Regions from separate parts of the Homo sapiens genome. Here region 2 is linked to region 1. Evidence: promoter capture Hi-C in 16 types of primary human blood cells and fetal thymus (Javierre and others, 2016). All regions are on one chromosome and are shown on one strand. The core of a region is centred on a gene start or on the middle of the fragment in contact, and the rest is flanking DNA. Distances in the headings are between cores, read along the strand shown. Region 1 holds the start of SEH1L (SEH1 like nucleoporin). Region 2 overlaps SPIRE1 (spire type actin nucleation factor 1).

What was found. The method cuts DNA at HindIII sites, captures the fragments that hold promoters and counts their contacts. A CHiCAGO score of 5 or more calls a contact.
Region 2: a fragment that was not itself captured here is called in contact with the fragment with the promoter of SEH1L in region 1 in 1 of 17 cell types (M0 macrophages); the score reaches 5.7 in M0 macrophages.

Annotation. Positions count from the first base shown.
Region 1 is chr18:12,944,944-12,950,845 of GRCh38, forward strand. SEH1L (SEH1 like nucleoporin) reads left to right here and starts at 3,068. Exons shown (of 9, transcript NM_001013437.2): 1 at 3,068-3,289. The coding sequence starts at 3,179. RefSeq lists silencers at 2,766-3,215, 3,256-3,605, 3,616-3,715 and an enhancer at 3,647-4,248. The HindIII fragment of the contact is 15,085 bases long and covers 2,026-5,902 here.
Region 2 is chr18:12,446,657-12,452,558 of GRCh38, forward strand. SPIRE1 (spire type actin nucleation factor 1) reads right to left here. Exons shown (of 17, transcript NM_001128626.2): 15 at 5,829-5,856; 16 at 5,599-5,735; 17 at 1-3,240. The coding sequence ends at 2,982. LOC105371998 (a long non-coding RNA gene) reads left to right here. Exons shown (of 6, transcript NR_136514.1): 6 at 888-1,142. It also overlaps the pseudogene HMGB3P28. Among named protein-coding and RNA genes, the nearest start is that of PRELID3A, 42 kb to the left of the region's middle. The HindIII fragment of the contact is 1,986 bases long and covers 2,643-4,628 here.

The DNA of each region.
Region 1 (5,902 bases), core at 1,818-4,317:
AGTGTAAGCTGGAGTATTGGCTCCTGGCTTTCTGCCTGCTGGTGGTAAAGGTGCCAATGTCAGCAGCCTCAGAGTCAATGATGGTAGCACTGGGTAAAACTATTTTCCCTTTCACGCTCCCAGCCCAGAGTTTCCCGTAGTTACTAGTCTCTGGGTAATCTCACATGTTCCCTTTTTGCTCTTAATTAACCCCTTGGATATATATGTAACCAGTTTCCTGTGTTAAATTCTCTCTCTCTTTTTTTTTTTTTTTTGAGATAGTGTCTCCCTGCGTTGCCCAGGATGGAGTCCTGTGGCACAATCTCGGTTCCACCACCACTCCTGGGGCATTTTTTTGTATTTTTATTTTGTATTTTTAGTAGAGAAGCGGGTCTCGCCACGTTGCCCAGGCTGGTCTTGAACTCCTGAGCTCAGATAATCTGCCCGTCTCGGCCTCCCAAAGTGCTGGATTACAGGGTAATTTAGCCACCAGGCCTGGCTGACACGACCACTTTGGAAGACAGTTTGTAAGTTTCTTATAAAACCAGGCCAGGCACAGTGGCTCATGCCTGTAATCCAAGCACTTTGGGAGGCCAAGGCAAGAGGATCGCTTGAGCCCAAGAGTTTGAGACCAGCCTGCTCAACATGGTGAAACCCCATCTCTGCAAAAAACAGAAAAATTAGCTGGGTGTGGTGGCACTGTGCCTGTAGTCCCAGCTGCTCGGGAGGCTGAGGTGGGAGGATCATCTGAACCCAGGGAATTTAAAGCTGCAGTGAGCCACGATTGTCTGCCATGACAGAGTGAGACCCTGTCTCAAAAAACAAAACAAAACCCCAAAAAACAAAACTAAACTTACTCTTACAATATGATCCAGCAATCATGCTTCTTGGTATCTACCCAAAGGAGTTGCGAACATGTCCACACAAAAACCTGTACACAGATGTTTGTAGGAGCTTTATTGATAATTGCCCAAACACAGAAACAACCAGAATGCCCTTTAGTTGGGGAATGAATAAACACTGTTACAGCCTGACAATGGAATATTATTCAGCACTAAAAAGAAATGAACTCTCAAGACAAGACATGGAGAAAGCTTAAATGCATATTACTATAAGGAAAGAAGCCAATCTGAAAAGGCTAGCCACTCCAAGATTCCCATTATATGCCATTCTGGAAAAGTCAAAACCATGCAGTCAGTGGAAAGATCAGCGGTTGCCAGGTGTTGTCGGAAGAAAGGGATGAACAGGAGCACTAAGGATTTTCAGGGCAGTCAAACTATTCCGCGTGATACTATAATGGTGGATCCATGTCATTATATATTTGCCAAAACCCACAGAATAAAACACCAAGAGTGAACCCTAATGCAAACTCTGAATTTTGGGTGATAATGATGTGTCAATGTAGGTTCACTGATCATAACAAAGGTACCACTTTGGTATGGGATGTTGACAGTGGAGGATGCTGTGCATGTGTGACAGTAGGGGTACATACGGGAACTCTATTTTCTGCTCAATTTTGCTGTGAACCTGAAAGTGTTCTAAAAACTAAAGTCTATTTTAAAAAATCCACTGTTTCACCTAATTCAACACTTCACTCCCACTCTGATAATCTCTGGCAACCAATGATCTGTTTACTGTCTGTATTTAAATTTAATTAAAACAATTTTTAAACTGTTTTGATATTTTTATAATAATCAATATATTTTGATTGGACTTTTATAGTGAGCACTTTCTTTGGAAATGAGTGTCTTTGACCTTCAAAAAAGTTATAGTTGTTATCAGTTATCATAAGAGGTGGGGCCCACCTCTTAAAGTAGCAATAAAATCTTATTTATGGTTGAAAAAGGTCAGGTCATTGCGCCACTTCTCTTTGCAGGTTTCTGTGCAATCCATCAGGGGACAGCTGGGACTAATCATTTAAAAAACTTTCCAGCCTGCTAATTTTACCATACCTCACATTTTTGTCATTCCTGGCCAAAATCCAAAGGGCAAGTCCCTTCTGCAGCCTCATTTTTTTTTTTTCTGTACTTTCGCTCCCCTGACGCAAGCTTCCACTGTCTCCCATCCTAACTTTACCACTACGCCCTCTAGAATGCCTTTTCCTGATAAGCAAAACCCCCCGAGTCGTTGGCTCCTCCACTTTCCGGTTTTGGCAGAATCCTTGATCTGAGCCAGGCCTCTTCCCAGGGGCTCTGGCCCTCTTCACTTCCTTTTCCCCGGAGGACTCTGGCTCCCGGGTAGCAAGCAGCCCACTTCCCCGGCCGCTTCCTTCCCCCGGGATGACACGTTTCTACAGGCGGACTCTTCTAATTCATACTATTTCCCTACCCCCGTGGTGGCTCCTAGCACCCCCAGGCCTGTTCTACCTGTAAAATCTTGACACATTTAAACTACTACTTCTGATCCTTTCCTCCCCGTCCAGCCTTCGCTCTTAGGCTGCCGAGCCTGGACTGCTTGTCATCCCCTCAGGCGTCTCCCCGGCCCTCCCTGCTCTTCAGCCGTCCCGACGGAGCGCGGCTCCTGACCAAACCCACGGTTCGTCTTCTCCACCTGCTCCGCGCGCCTCGCATGTGTCTGGGGGGAAACACATCCAAACGTCGACTTAAATGATTCAGGGCCGAGGACCGTGAGAGGCAGTCTTCACTTTTTCATCTTTCTTCATTTGCACAGTATACCAATAAGCTCTTACTACTTCTCAGCACAGGTAACTCGCCTTTTGCAGAGCACCCTCCGCCGCCGAACGGTCAGAGCCTGGAGGAACCCGCACCAGGATCGTAGGGCATGACGGGCCGGGGGCGGGACGAGGATTGACGAGCCGGGAACAGGGCGGGGCTTGAGGGGGCGGGAGGGTGGGGCGAGGCATGACGGCTCTGGTGGGAGGGTAGGCGGGGCTTGACGGGCCTGGGGGCGGGGCGGGGCTTGAGGGACCGGAAGGTGGGGCGAGTCATGACGGGCCGGGGCGTGGGCAGGGCTTGAGGGGCCAGGGGACTGTGTGGGGCCTGACGGGCCGGTGGGTGGGGCGGGGCTTGAAGGACCGGAGGGTGTGTGGGCGGGGCTTGATAGGCAGGGGCGGTGCGGGGGCGTGGGCAGCACAAGCCGTGCGCTCCCGGGCTGCGAGGTCTGGCTAGGCTACGGGCCACGCGCCGCCGCCGCTGCCGCCGCCACTGTCCTCTTCGGAGGCGCGGGCCCGACGGAAACCATGTTTGTGGCTCGCAGCATCGCGGCGGACCACAAGGATCTCATCCACGATGTCTCTTTCGACTTCCACGGGCGGCGGATGGCAACCTGCTCCAGCGATCAGAGCGTTAAGGTGCGCGCGGCGCTTGCGGGCGGGGCCGACCCCGGAAGGAAGGAAGGGGAGTGGGTGGGCGGCGCGGGGAACGGGGCTGTGTCTTGGTTCAGTGACGCCGCTGGAAGCTGTGGGGTGGCGGGCGAGCCCTGGCTGGACTGAGCGGAAGCCCTCCCCGCCCGCGTATTGTGGGGTCACGGCGGCCTCGCGGGCCGCCCTCCCGTGCGCCTGCGCAGCTGGTGCCACGTGCGCGCTCCCGCCCGCAGGGTACGCCGGGCCCTCTCCCAGGCCGCGCTGCCGGGGCTGCGGGCGGGAACCCAGGGGCATCCCACCGTCAGCCTCGGCGTCGTGGGTCTTGCCCGCGCTGTTCACCCGACGACCTGCAGTGGGACCTGGTGGGAGACTTTGCCTGGCTGGCGCTGCGTCGAGTTCTGTGCCCCGCCGGTGTTCTCTCACCAGGGCACATGGTTTTCTCCGTGGGTTCAGAGCAGAAGCTCACTTTGTTACGCCGAGGAAGAAAAATACAAACCATTTACATCCAATGATTTCCCTGCTTGCTGCCCAGGAATCGGAGGGTTTGTTTCTTGAAGTTCCCGTAAACGTCTGTAGACACTTCCGACAAGCAGAATTTCTTTTCTTTTTTTTTTTTTTTTTTTGAGACCGAGTCTCACTCTGTCACCCAGGCTGGAGTGCAATGGCACGATCTCGGCTCACTGCAACGTCCGCCTCCCGCTTTCAGGCGATTATCCTGCCCCAGCCTCCCAAGTAGCAGGGATTACAGGTGCACGCCACCACCCCCGGCTAATCTTTTTTTTTTTTTGTATTTTTTAGTAGAGACAGAGTTTCACCATGTGGGCCAGGCTGGTCTCGAACTCCTGACCTCGTGATCCACCCGCCTCGGCGCCTCGGCCTCCCAAAGTGCTGGGATTACAGGCGTGAGCCACCGCGCCCGGCCTACAAGCAGAATTTCTAATGTGGGGATGCTACATGAGATTTAGGAACCTCCCAGATGTGTTGCAGGATGAATGAAAGCTGGAGTGCGGATTATTTGGTTCTCGACAACTCCAGAGTAACTGGAAATCTGAAGGATAGTTTATCCTTTTTCACATTCGAGTTTGATACCAGTGATCTCTCAAAGATAAACTTTTTATAAATAGTGTTGCAATTTTTAAAAGATGTAGTTTCTTTTTTAAAACAAGTTTATTTTTGTTGTAATAAACTACGTTAACCGTTTTTTTTTTTTTTTTTTTTTTTTTTTTGAGACGGAGTCTTGCTCTGTCACCCAGGCTGGAGTGGGGTGGCGCAATCTTGGCTCACTGCAAGCTCCGCCTCCCGGGTTCACGCCATTCTCCTGCCTCAGCCTCCCAAGTAGCTGGGACTACAGGCGCCCGCCACCACGCCCGGCTAATTTTTTGTATTTTTTAGTAGAGACAGGGTTTCACCATGTTAGCCAGGATGGTCTCTATCTCCTGACCTCGTGATCCGCCCACCTCGGCCTCCCAAAGTGCTAGGATTACGGGCGTGAGCCACCGCGCCCGGCCCACGTTAACCGTTTTAAAGTGTAGAATTCAGTGGCATAGAGCACAGCATTCACATTTTTGTGCAGCGTCGCCCCTGCCCATCTCCAGAACCTTTTCATCATCCTAAACTGAAACTCTGTACCCAAGAGCACCCTGTTCCGCCACCCCATCCTCTGGTAACCTCTATTCTACTGCTTTCTATTAATTTGCATATTCTAGGTACCTCAGATAAATAGAATCATAGAATATTCGCCCTTTTATATTTGGTTTATTTCACTTAGTATAATTTTTTTTTTCTTTTTTCTTTTTCCTTTTTTTTTGAGGCAGAGTCTGGCTCTGTCACCCAGGCTGGAGTGCAGTGGTGCGATCTTGGCTTGTTGCAGCCTCAACATCCCAGGTTCAAGCCATCCTCCCACCTTAGCCTCTCCAGTAGCTGGGACTACGAGTGCACGCCACCACGCCTGGCCAATTAAAACATTTTTTTTGTAGAGGCAGGGTCTTGCTGCGTTGCCCAGGCTAGTCTCGAACTCCTGAGCTCAAGTGATCCTCTCACCTCAGCCTCCCAGAGTGCTGGGATTACAGGTGTGAGTCACCTTGCCCAGCCCTCTTAGGTCCATTTATTCCAGAGTACTTTTTTTTTAAAGGAGGAGCCATGTATTTATTTGTATATATTTTTAATTGAGCAAGTAATATATTTTTCTTTTTAGAAAGTGAAAAAATTATAGACTTATTGCTAATGTGTTAATATTTATTGATTTCCTCTGTTTTTCCTTTAACGTTTTAAGTTGTCATGGTAGAGTGTGTGTATATACGTATATGTCTTGTCAGAAATAGTGTTGTACTGAAATTTTTCATTAGTTTAGCATTTTATGTATTTTGAATGATTTTCTTAGGCTAATTCTAGAAGATAAATTAGTGGATATTTTAAACACTATTGAAGAGAATTGACAAATTGCTATTTTGCAGGTCGTACCGTTTTATACCGCCAGTGATAGTATTGATTTGATAGTGTTATTGCCCTCGTTACATTTTTAACAGGTGAAATTGGCACCTTCTTATTGTAATCTATATTTTTTCTGGGTAATAAGGTTTAATTTTTTTGTTTTGAGATGGA
Region 2 (5,902 bases), core at 2,386-4,885, 500 kb before region 1:
GTACACATTTCTCTATGGTCCTTCAACAGTTTTGCATATACAAAATTTTCTGCTATTTTGCTTTAGCAAACAGCAATAAACTTTTGTGTTTCCTATATGACACCTAATATCCAGTCCTACAGTAATATAGTTAGAAAAATAAAAGGCTTAAAAATTTCATAGTACGAGTTCATGGTGCTAATAACAGAATCTCTTTAAACATAAGATCATTTTAAGCCTCTTACATAACCACCTTCTGGTTTCATTTGAAATCCTTAAGAATTAAAATCTAGTAAGATTGTTAAATCAACGTACGTCAATCATTCATTTTCACTTGCCTTGGGAGAGTTAATTCCCACTGTCCACTGAATGAATGCCTTTCAAATATTAATAAATATATTACAGTATTTACAAGCATTCTTATACACTCCGACACTGACAGGGAGTTAAGCCATGGAGAGGGAAGCACAGGTTTCCCAATAGTGTGACTTCATGACGTATGGGACAAAAGGAACCGGTGCTCAGGCCTGGAGGGAGCTGAGATGAGAGCAGGGATGATGGTTCAGATACGCACACATGCTCTAAGACACATCAGACTCTAGCTGAGACCAGCCAGACATTTCTTTTGTTGTTGGATTAGAAGTAAAACTGAACAAGAAACCAGGACACGGAAGGAAGAACTGGAAGCTATGCCTAAAGTCAGACCAGGCTAAGGATTTTAAAACCAAGCTCCACAAGCTCTTAGTGAATTACCCTGTGGAAACTATGTAGCTGACGTGAAGTGTGGAGGGGGGTGGTAGAAAGGGGGGTTAAATGTAAGACTTTGTTTTGGCAACAAAAAATGATAGTAATTTGATTTCTACAACTTTAACTGTGCCATGTGCCCTTTCTTACCCCACTTTCTGCAGATTGTTTCATATGAACGTACCCTCCACGTGACCTCTTTAATGCACTTGGCAAACTCCGTTAATGCTGTTGAAGAATGTATGTTCTGTGCTGTGGTAAGAGGTGATCGTAATGCCCAAATCATCCAATACACTATCATAAAGTGAAGTGAAAGACATGTACTAGATGTTTGCTTTGTGAATGTGAATGAAAGTCTTATTTTGGGGGTGTAGTTTCTTATGTTTTAATAAAAACAGTAGTCATTATTTTAAAAAGCACATTCTCCTAGGTGCATATTTATATACATATACAAATACCATTTCCTTCCCCCTTGTGCCCTTCTGGGTAGTCATTTTAAAAACTCAAGCCTGGGGTCATCAAAAGGGGTAGATTTATACTCCCACCTAACTGTCTGGAGTATAGAGTTCAGATAGTCTCTTAGGAAGTTTTATAAATGAGATTCACCCAGTACAATTCTGAAAGCTCTTAAACAGGAGTCTTTAAAATAATGTAAACACTTAAGTAATCAATAAGGGTTCTCTGGTGGCCCACTTTTACATGCAAATACAGACCAACTGTTAACATGCATTATTTTAGTCAACTGGTAAAGTTTATTTCATAAGTATAAGTAATTTTAAGCCTTTTACTAAACTGTAAATTTCAATCCATTAAAAACTACTACCGGAGCAGTTTTGAGGTATTACTGTTAATTTAGTATAGAAATGTTACTGTATTTTGATGTGGTATGAAATGCAGCCGCCATGCCTTTCATGAAACGGTGCTATCGTGGTGCTGACTACAGACATGTCCTATGGCTTTCAGGAAATTATTGTGCATGTGCATTAACAGATTTTCCAAACATTAATGACAATTTGATTGGTTAGTCATTTGTAAGCATACCAAAATAATACAGTATAGCCCACGTATGAGCCAAACACACTGAGACATTTGAGGCATACAATGCTACCCTCCAGTCTACTTTCGTCAGAAACCAAACCTACTCACTCAAATCATTTACAAGGAAAACTAGTGCAGAAAGCACCCCAAAAATGTTGCCTGTCAGCAGGTTAATTTTCTTCTAACTTTAAAAGAAGTAGATATTTTTTCTTTTAAAATTCATTTATAAAAATAAATTTTAGTTTGAGACCCTAGGTACCAAATTGTGGCTTAATTTACTCAAGATGGATGTACTACAAAGTTATGAAAAATGTAGCTGAAAACCCATGAGCTCCAGCTCATTTCTGCAGCGTGGCCAACAGCTGCCACTGTACACTGTCACAACCCTTCTCATAGGTAACCAAAATACGCTCAACGTCTTGACAAACTTTTAGCCTTCCTTTGTCCTGAAACTCCCACACAACTTTAATTCTTAGACCTCCATTATAAAACTATTAGTAACCATAATACATTCAAGATAGAGAATGAAGACCTGTCATCCACTCAGGAGACACTGAACCAGGGCACTGGGACAACACGGCCACTCAGGGGAAATAGTCACCCTTGTGGGTGTACAGCTCTTCAGATGTTTTGCACTAGAATGCAGGCAAAAAGTCCCTTATGTAATTTTTATCTCCAAGCAACAACATTTAAAAATCAGTTGAAGAGTGTCAGCAGGTGCTTCTAGGTTCTGTGCTGTGAGCCCCCAGGTCGTGGAGTGTAGGGCTCTGGATCTCTCTGTACACGGGATAGAAACACAGTCACGTGGAAATGCCAATATGACTTACTGCTTAGGGCTGTGCTGACATCGGCATCTCTGTTAGACTGATTCTCGTAGGAGAAGCTTTTTTTTTTTGCCTTAGTCAGGAGATTATTCGAGGAACAGTAAAGAACTGAACTAAGGAAGTAGCTACTGGCTTCCAAAGCCACACACACACAAAAGTAAGTTTCAAACTGTTGTCCTCTCTCAGTGCAAACGAGCAATTGGCGGACCTGTCACGTTTCATCAATCGATACGAACACAGCATTCAGTCTGTGGAACAATGTGATGCGGCAAAAATCTGATCTAATGCAAATTCAAGCCCATTAAATAAAACCACAGAAAGGAGAGCCAGCCCGGCTCAGTGTCCTCGCGCACGGACGCTGACTCGTAGCACAAAAGCAGCTGAAAGGCACGAGGCTCAGATCTCACTGATCGTCCTCTCTGAAGGGCAGTACTCCGAGGGGCCTGGCGAGGACATGTAGAAAGACTGCGTTTTCCTTTTCAATCGGGCCCTTTTGTTGGCCAACACCAGACTGCGCCGGCTTGAACTGATGATTTCCGAAATGAACTTCTTGCAGTCCACACACACCTCCATGGTGCTCCAGTCCTCCATCAACTCTTTGGGAAACTGGAGTTCTTCATCTGATTTGTCCATAGACTTAGATTTTGAGGAGAACCTGGGGTGAAAACAAAACAGAAGCCCAGCATTGTTACTTATAGGTCTGCTGCAATATTAAGAAAATATGTATAAAAAAAAGTAAATTTGTTGTCAAAACATCATGGAATGGATGAGTGATTTAATCATATGTCCTTCTAAAAAAATTTCTTATTGGTGACAAGGCTAAAAAATATTACTTAGAAAAGAAAGTAGGAGGCCTAGTGCGGTGGCTCACGCCTGTAATCCCAGCACTTTGGGAGGCTGAGGCAGGCAGATCACCTGAGGTCAGGAGTTTGGCGAAACCCAGTCTCTACTAAAAAAAAAAAAAAAAAATAGCCAGGCATGGTGGTGGGCCCCTGTAATCCCCACTTCTCTGGAGGCTGAGGCGGGAGAATCGCTTGAACCCGGGAGGTGAAGGTTGCAGTGAGCTGAGATGGCACCACTGCACTCTAGCCAGGGTGACAAAAGCGAAACTCTGTCTCAAAAAACAAAAAAAGAAAAGGAAAGAAAGCAGAAAACATGTCTTATTAAGACAGGCACTGCCCAGACTATCGAACAATACAGTCAGGATGGCTAAAGGTGACCCCAAGAAACCAAAGGGCAAGATGTCTGCTTATGCCTTTTTGTGCAGACGTGCAGAGAAGAACATAAGAAGAAGAGCCCAGCGGTCTCTGTCAATTTTGCAGAATTTTCCAAGAAGTGCTCTGAGAGGTGGAAGACAATGTCTGGGAAAGAGAAGTCTAAATTTGATGAAATGGCAAAGGTGGATAAAGTACACTACCACTGGGAAATGAAGGATTATGGACCAGCTAAGGGAGGCAAGAAGAAGGATCCTAATGCCCCGAAAAAGCCACCGTCTGGATTCTTCCTGCTCTGTTCAGAATTCCACCCCAAGATCAAATTCATAAACCCTGGCATCTCTATTGGAGACATGGCAAAAAAGCTGGGTGAGATGCGGAATAACTTAAATGACAGTGAAAAGCAGCCTTACACCACTAAGGCGGCAAAGCTGAAGGAAAAGTATGAGAAGGATGTTTCTGACTATAAGTTGAAAGGAAAGTTTGATGGAGAAAAGGGTCCTGCTAAAGTTGCCCAGAAAAAGGTGGAAGAGGAAGATGAAGATGAACAAGATGAAAAGGAAGAAGGAGGGGAGGAGGAGGAGGAGGAGGAGGATGAATAAGAGACTGTCCATTTGAAAAAAAAAAAAGAAATAATACTAAAAACTCTTAACCACCCTTCTAGAATTCTTGAAAAATAGGGTATTCATCTGATTCCCAATGAACATTAGCTAACTGTAGATGGCAGGTCAGACTACGGGAAATTCAAGTAAATTTATCTTAATCCCATGACACATCCTAAAAACTAAATTTTGACTAGTTTTCTCATCATTTATGTATTTATCAAACAAGCTTCTCCCTCCCCAACAATTCCCTGTATTTGTGCGATTATTTATTGGGATTCCAAGGAGCTGGAGATAACCAGACCAACATCATAGTAAATATTTCCAGGAATGTCTGAGATAACCAGGAATCATCTACTTATTTACTATTTTAACTAAACCAAACAGGATATAAATGGGTAGTCTATAGTATGTTCAGAGTTAAGTATGGAAAACTGTAGCAGCTGTTATGTGCACTGCCTTGAGCTCACTGAAAATTCACACCCAGAGGTCTCAGAGGAGGCAGCCCAAGCACAGAGGCAGACGTTTCAGGCACAAGGTTCATGCTGGGCTCACAGCTTCCTCGCCTCGCTGTCCACAGAGCCAGGACATGTGGTTGGTAGATCAAAGCCCAGCCTCTCGGCCCTGCCAGCTTGAGGCTTGAGCTGGCCTACCTCCTTCCATCTTTCTTAAGGCCCAACACTAAACTTACCCTGCACTAAATGCAAAGGGACTGATACTGAGGTGATGTTTTTTCTTTTAAATTATTAGCTCTTGGCATAAAGCTTTATTTCTGCCTTTACAATAATAGTAAAGTCAGTCAAAGCTATGGCAGAACATTGTAAACAGGATTAAACAGATTCCTTTCAAAACTAGACAAGGAGGAAAGGATGAGACTGTTACATTCCAATTTTCAACTCCATTGAAAACAAGGTCAGTTTTAAAGATGACTCTTACAGGACACAGTAAAACAGTTATTTCTAAAGTAGAAAAAAATATAAACTCTGTGATGAAAGTATCTTTCAAGTAGCTAGCCATTATTCCTTGAAAAGTTACCTTTGGGGAAGTTTTGGAGATTTGTGTGTAAAACTGTATTAAAACCAACCAACAAACCAATAAAAACCCCTCGAGCCAAAACCCTAACACTCTACCACAGTCCTCAAGAGTAGAACTCTTCTTCTGCAAAGGATGGTTTGACAACCCAGGCCCCTTGCTCACCTGGCAATGCTCCGAAGTGGCCGATGATGGGCAGTGGAGGGTTTTTCTGACCTCATACTACTTTCCCCTCTTTGCAGAGCAGAAGGTCCCAATGAAAAGATAGGAAGAGTGGAGTATGGTTTGGAGGGCAGCCGCATCTATTATCCCAAATAAAACTGGCAATGAGCAGTACCGTTAAAGAGGCAGTCACTAAAAGGAACACAAGTATAAATGAACCAAGCTTAGCTTACCTTTTTGCAACACTGTGAGCACACCGGCCTGTAAACAAAATCATAAATGTTATTTGGCATGATACCAGGGGACG